Linked DNA regions of Homo sapiens: region 2 is linked to region 1. Evidence: promoter capture Hi-C in 16 types of primary human blood cells and fetal thymus (Javierre and others, 2016). All regions are on one chromosome and are shown on one strand. Each heading gives the region's core, a stretch centred on a gene start or on the middle of the fragment in contact. The rest is flanking DNA. Distances are from core to core; before and after follow the strand shown. Region 1 holds the start of MAPT (microtubule associated protein tau). Region 2 overlaps LINC02210-CRHR1 (LINC02210-CRHR1 readthrough).

Region 1 (2,891 bases), core at 106-2,605:
GTCAATTCCACTGACTTTTCTAAGGTGTACACCATCAAGGGGCAGCTCCATCTCCAGGCCATTGGCTCATGAGACATTCTGTAGTCAGAAGGCTAGGGCAGATTGCTTTGAGCAAGCCCCCATGGTGGTTCTCACTCCTACTTCTTTGGGTATATGCCCCTCTGTTTAAAAATAAAGTTAATATGCATTTAAAAAAAAAAAGGAGAAAAAGGTCAGTTCCAGAAACTGTGTGAATAAAGCATTTTACTTGCTTTTTCTATTAATCTATAACATATGTTGATTTTTTAAAAAGAATATAAGAGCTATGCAAATTGGAGCTTCAAGACAACTTCCCATCTCCCTAGGAGGAGATGGCTGCCCTAAACCCCCCTACATAGAAATCATCCCACTGCTTGGGCTTAAACTTGATGTTGGGGAAATGAAAAATCCAAGCTAAGGCCGAAGCCTGGGGCCTGGGCGACCAGCAGAATGAGGACCACTGGTCAGTTTCAGGCTGAGGTGCGTCTTCCAGGGGACAATCTCTAGCTGGCCCTTAAACATTCAGACTTCAAGCTCTATTTACAGCATAAAGGTGTTTCAAAAGACGTGATACAAATAACTGCAAATGCTCTGCGATGTGTTAAGCACTGTTTGAAATTCGTCTAATTTAAGATTTTTTTTTCTGACGTAACGGTTAGATTCACGTTTCTTTTTTTTTAAGTACAGTTCTACTGTATTGTAACTGAGTTAGCTTGCTTTAAGCCGATTTGTTAAGGAAAGGATTCACCTTGGTCAGTAACAAAAAAGGTGGGAAAAAAGCAAGGAGAAAGGAAGCAGCCTGGGGGAAAGAGACCTTAGCCAGGGGGGCGGTTTCGGGACTACGAAGGGTCGGGGCGGACGGACTCGAGGGCCGGCCACGTGGAAGGCCGCTCAGGACTTCTGTAGGAGAGGACACCGCCCCAGGCTGACTGAAAGTAAAGGGCAGCGGACCCAGCGGCGGAGCCACTGGCCTTGCCCCGACCCCGCATGGCCCGAAGGAGGACACCCACCCCCGCAACGACACAAAGACTCCAACTACAGGAGGTGGAGAAAGCGCGTGCGCCACGGAACGCGCGTGCGCGCTGCGGTCAGCGCCGCGGCCTGAGGCGTAGCGGGAGGGGGACCGCGAAAGGGCAGCGCCGAGAGGAACGAGCCGGGAGACGCCGGACGGCCGAGCGGCAGGGCGCTCGCGCGCGCCCACTAGTGGCCGGAGGAGAAGGCTCCCGCGGAGGCCGCGCTGCCCGCCCCCTCCCCTGGGGAGGCTCGCGTTCCCGCTGCTCGCGCCTGCGCCGCCCGCCGGCCTCAGGAACGCGCCCTCTTCGCCGGCGCGCGCCCTCGCAGTCACCGCCACCCACCAGCTCCGGCACCAACAGCAGCGCCGCTGCCACCGCCCACCTTCTGCCGCCGCCACCACAGCCACCTTCTCCTCCTCCGCTGTCCTCTCCCGTCCTCGCCTCTGTCGACTATCAGGTAAGCGCCGCGGCTCCGAAATCTGCCTCGCCGTCCGCCTCTGTGCACCCCTGCGCCGCCGCCCCTCGCCCTCCCTCTCCGCAGACTGGGGCTTCGTGCGCCGGGCATCGGTCGGGGCCACCGCAGGGCCCCTCCCTGCCTCCCCTGCTCGGGGGCTGGGGCCAGGGCGGCCTGGAAAGGGACCTGAGCAAGGGATGCACGCACGCGTGAGTGCGCGCGTGTGTGTGTGCTGGAGGGTCTTCACCACCAGATTCGCGCAGACCCCAGGTGGAGGCTGTGCCGGCAGGGTGGGGCGCGGCGGCGGTGACTTGGGGGAGGGGGCTGCCCTTCACTCTCGACTGCAGCCTTTTGCCGCAATGGGCGTGTGTGTGTGTGTGTGTGTGTGTGTGTGTGTGTGTGTGTGTGGAGGGGTCCGATAACGACCCCCGAAACCGAATCTGAAATCCGCTGTCCCTGCCGCTGTTCGCCATCAGCTCTAAGAAAGACGTGGATCGGGTTCTAGAAAAGATGACTCCCTGCACGCCCCTCCCTGCACCTCCCGAGCAGTGATTCCGACAGGGCCTTCACTGCCCCTGATTTTAGGCGGGGGCCGGCCCCCTCCCCTTTTCCTCCTTCAGAAACCCGTAGGGGACATTTGGGGGCTGGGAGAAATCGAGGAGATGGGGAGGGGTCCACGCGCTGTCACTTTAGTTGCCCTTCCCCCTGCGCACGCCTGGCACAGAGACGCGAGCAGCGCCGTGCCTGAGAACAGTGCGCGGATCCCACTGTGCACGCTCGCAAAGGCAGGGTTCACCTGGCCTGGCGATGTGGACGGACTCGGCGGCCGCTGGTCCCCGTTCGCGGGCACGCACAGCCGCAGCCACGCACGGATGGGCGCGGGGCTGCAGGTGCATCTCGGGGCGGATTTCTTTCTCAGCGCTCGGAGCGCAGGGCGCCCGGCGTGTGCGCTCCCTGCCGGAGGCGCGGGGCTGGCGCGCAGGGCTCGCCCCTCACTGCGGCAGTGGGTGTGGACCCTGGTGGGCGAGGAAGGGGGAGGATAGGCTGTGCCTCCTCCCACTCCCGCCCCCAGCCCCCCTTTTTTTCCCCCTCGGAACGCGAGGTGCCATCTTTTTTCGGCGTGTCACGTCTTTACGGTGCCATGCCAAACCGGGTGGCCGGGCTTCATAGGACAGGGCGGGGCCTGGCATTAAAGGGAGGGGGACAATCAGCGCTGAAATCTTGGCGTTTTGCTGCTGCGGGCGTGAGCACTGGGGGCGTTCGCCCAGCACCTTCTTCGGGGGCTCTTTGCTTTGTCTGTAGAGGTTACGTGATCTGCGCTCCCAGCCCTGGTTTCTGGCTTTTATTCTGAGGGTGTTCAGTCAACCTCCCCCCTACGCCCATGCGCCTCTCTTTCCTTTTTCGCT
Region 2 (2,895 bases), core at 24-2,523, 260 kb before region 1:
CCTCTGCCTCCCAGGTTCAAGCGATTCTCCTGCTTCAGCCTCCCGAGTAGCTGGGATTACAGGCGTGTGCCACCACGCCCAGCTAATTTTGTATTTTTAGTAGAGATGGGGTTTCTCCATGTTGGTCAGGCTGGTCTTGAACTCCCGACCTCAGGTGATCCACCCGCCTCGGCCTCCCAAAGTGCTGGGATTACAGGCATGAGCCACTGCGCCCGGCTGTAAATATGCTTTTTGTAGGTTCTCTTAGTTCAGATGTAGGACCAGTCTGATGTTAGGTTCTTAGGTAAGGACCTATATAAAGATAGTATAAAATGGTACCTAATATTACAAAGCTTTTTTAGGAATGGCAAAGGGATAATATGGCAGCTTCCTCCCTGTCAGTTCTGCATTGGTGACTAAGGATCTCAAATTTCTGGATAATCTGGCTTGCTTAGTTACGACGAGAGACCAGAACTTGCTGATAGCATATGAAATCTTCGGGGGAGTTTTGAATGTTTTTCATTTTTTAATCTGATATGATGTAGCAGACATGACATTGACTCACATGCAAGCCCCAAACATGCCGAAGCTGCGGGAGCTCTCTATCAGCCATAGTAGGCTGCTCTGTTGCCGTTGGTTCAGGCAGCTGTTGAGTGGGCCTGGGAGGCACGGAGGGAAAGGGAAGAGGGCCGGCACTGGTTTACTCTCCTAGACATAGTCGTGAAATCTCATGGTCAAAGGAAACCAAGAAGTCATCTTATCCTGCTACTATTTTCCTTCCAGGGTCTCTTCTGCAGGGTCCCCATGAATTGTGGCTGAAGTTGTGCACAAACAAGTATCTCCAGTGACAGGAGTGCCTTCTGAGGCAGCCATTGCATCTTCATCTGCTGACACTCTGCTAGGCTGACTTCTGTAGTTTTCACCACTGATCTTCAGTCCACCTCACAGAGCTCTATAAAACGCTTAAATCCTCTTTACATCATAGACTTTCAGCTACTTGAAGATAGCCATCAGCCGCTACGTGACTCTTTTCTCCAGGTAAAATCTCCAATTATAGCAGCTGTTCTTCATATGGCCTAGTGTCTAATGCCTTTGCTCTCCTGATCATTTTTTGAATTTTTTCAGTTTGCCCCGGTCTCAGAGTGTGGGATCCAGCACTGCCCATATAACGTTCCCAGGATGTTCTGACTGATGTAGAGTAAGCCTGGTATCACCCATGTCCTAGGAACTGAGACCCCGTCACTACTGGTGATGCAGCCTAGGATCAAACTGTTCTTTTGGCAGCCACTTCACATTTTTGTGTTAAGGGCTTACTCTTAGCCAAACACAAATTTTGTTTTGTTTTGTTTTTTGTTTTTTCCGAGACAGGTTCTCACTCTGTCACCTAAGCTGGAGTGCAGTGGCACCATCTCAGCTCACTGCAACTGCTGCCTCCCGGGTTCAAGCAATTCTTTTACCTCAGCCCCCCCAGTAGCTGGGATCACAGGTACGCGTCACCACGCCTGGCTAATTTTTGTATTTTTAGTAGAGATGGGGTTTTGCCAAGTTGGCCTGGCTGGTTTCGAACCCCTGACCTCAAGTCATCTGCCCACCTTGGCTTCCTGAAGTGCTGGGATTACAGGCCTGAGCCACCACACCTGGCTGACAGATTGTTGTTATCATTAATGTCACATGAACTACTGCCAAAGGCGTCTCCCCTTCTTGTGCTTGGAGGGTGTGTTGGATGCCACCTGTGCCCCTCCCTGGAGATGCTTTTGGCCCCACAGCTTCCTCCAGCCAATGTAGCAGTGACTGGGTCTGTGCAGGTTTTGGTCACCTTCACTCAGGTGTGATGGGGTGGTGCCTTTCTTTGGCCTGCCCCAGGTATCTTTTACTTTTTGGGATGTATTTGATGCTATAGTATGGAATGCTGCAGAGACTTCCGGCACCAACCCCCTGGAGTTGGACTTTATTTCACAGGTTGAGGGCACCATCCTCCACAAGAATCCCCAACTTCAGCCACCAGCTGGCAACAGGTTTGGGGGTCCTCAGCCCACCCTCACTTCTGGCCAGATGGCTACAAATTTGGCGATTTCCACTACCCCCTCAGGTTTGATCACTTGTCAGAATGATTCACAGAATTCAGGGACATGCTATGCTTACAACTACAGTTTTATTAATTGATCAATAAAGCAAAAGGATATAAATGAACCAGTCAAAGGGAAAGACACATAGATCTGGGAGGACACCAAACGCAAAGCTTTCATTGTTCTCTCCCCGTGGAGTCAGGGGCTGTTACCTTTCCAGCACATCGATGCGTGACAATGTATAGAGTATTGCCAACCAGGGACGTGCTCCTGAGCTTCAGTATTTGTCATTTTTATTGGGGCTTCCTTGCATAGGTACGATTGATTGAATCATTGGCCATGTGACTCAAACTTTAGCACCCTCATTTCCCCAGAGGTGATCTTGTTAGCATCCACTATCTAGGGGCCCACTCTGAGTCACCTTGTTAGCATCAACTTAGAGGTGTGGGCCCGCTATGATAACAAAGATACTGCTGATCGGGCGCGGTGGCTCACGCCTGTAATCCCAGCACTTTGGGAGGCCGAGGCGGGCGGATCACAAGGTCAGGAGATCGAAACCATCCTGGCTAACATGGTGAAACCTTGTCTCTACTGAAAATACAAAAAATTAGCCGGGTACGGTAGCGGGCGCCTGTAGTCCCAGCTGCTCGGGAGGCTGAGGCAGGAGAATGGTGCAAACCCGAGAGGCGGAGCTTGCAGTGAGCCAAGATCGCGCCACTGCACTCCAGCCTGGCGGACAGAGCCAGACTCCGTCTCAAAAAAAAAAAAAAAAAAAAAAAAAAAAAGATACTGCTATCACTCTGAAAAGTCCAAGGGTTTAGAGGCTACCTTCTAGAAACTGGGGACAAAG

Evidence for each region. Contacts are between HindIII fragments. The CHiCAGO score rates a contact against its expected background, and 5 or more counts as called.
Region 2: a fragment that was not itself captured here is called in contact with the fragment with the promoter of MAPT in region 1 in 4 of 17 cell types (M1 macrophages, endothelial precursors, megakaryocytes and 1 more); the score reaches 6.6 in M1 macrophages.

What each region holds. Positions count from the first base shown.
Region 1 is chr17:45,893,199-45,896,089 of GRCh38, forward strand. It overlaps MAPT (microtubule associated protein tau), which reads left to right and starts at 1,356. Exons shown (of 13, transcript NM_001377265.1): 1 at 1,356-1,488. It overlaps MAPT-AS1 (MAPT antisense RNA 1), which reads right to left and starts at 2,315. Exons shown (of 2, transcript NR_024559.1): 1 at 2,282-2,315. It overlaps MAPT-IT1 (MAPT intronic transcript 1), which reads left to right and starts at 2,585. Exons shown (of 1, transcript NR_024560.1): 1 at 2,585-2,891. RefSeq lists enhancers at 1,299-2,184, 2,185-2,891. The HindIII fragment of the contact is 3,093 bases long and covers 1-2,891 here.
Region 2 is chr17:45,629,142-45,632,036 of GRCh38, forward strand. It overlaps LINC02210-CRHR1 (LINC02210-CRHR1 readthrough), which reads left to right. Exons shown (of 15, transcript NM_001256299.3): 3 at 763-1,017. It overlaps LINC02210 (long intergenic non-protein coding RNA 2210), which reads left to right. Exons shown (of 6, transcript NR_138260.1): 3 at 763-1,017; 4 at 1,105-1,177; 5 at 1,348-1,465. Among named protein-coding and RNA genes, the nearest start is that of LINC02210-CRHR1, 10 kb to the left of the region's middle. The HindIII fragment of the contact is 1,886 bases long and covers 331-2,216 here.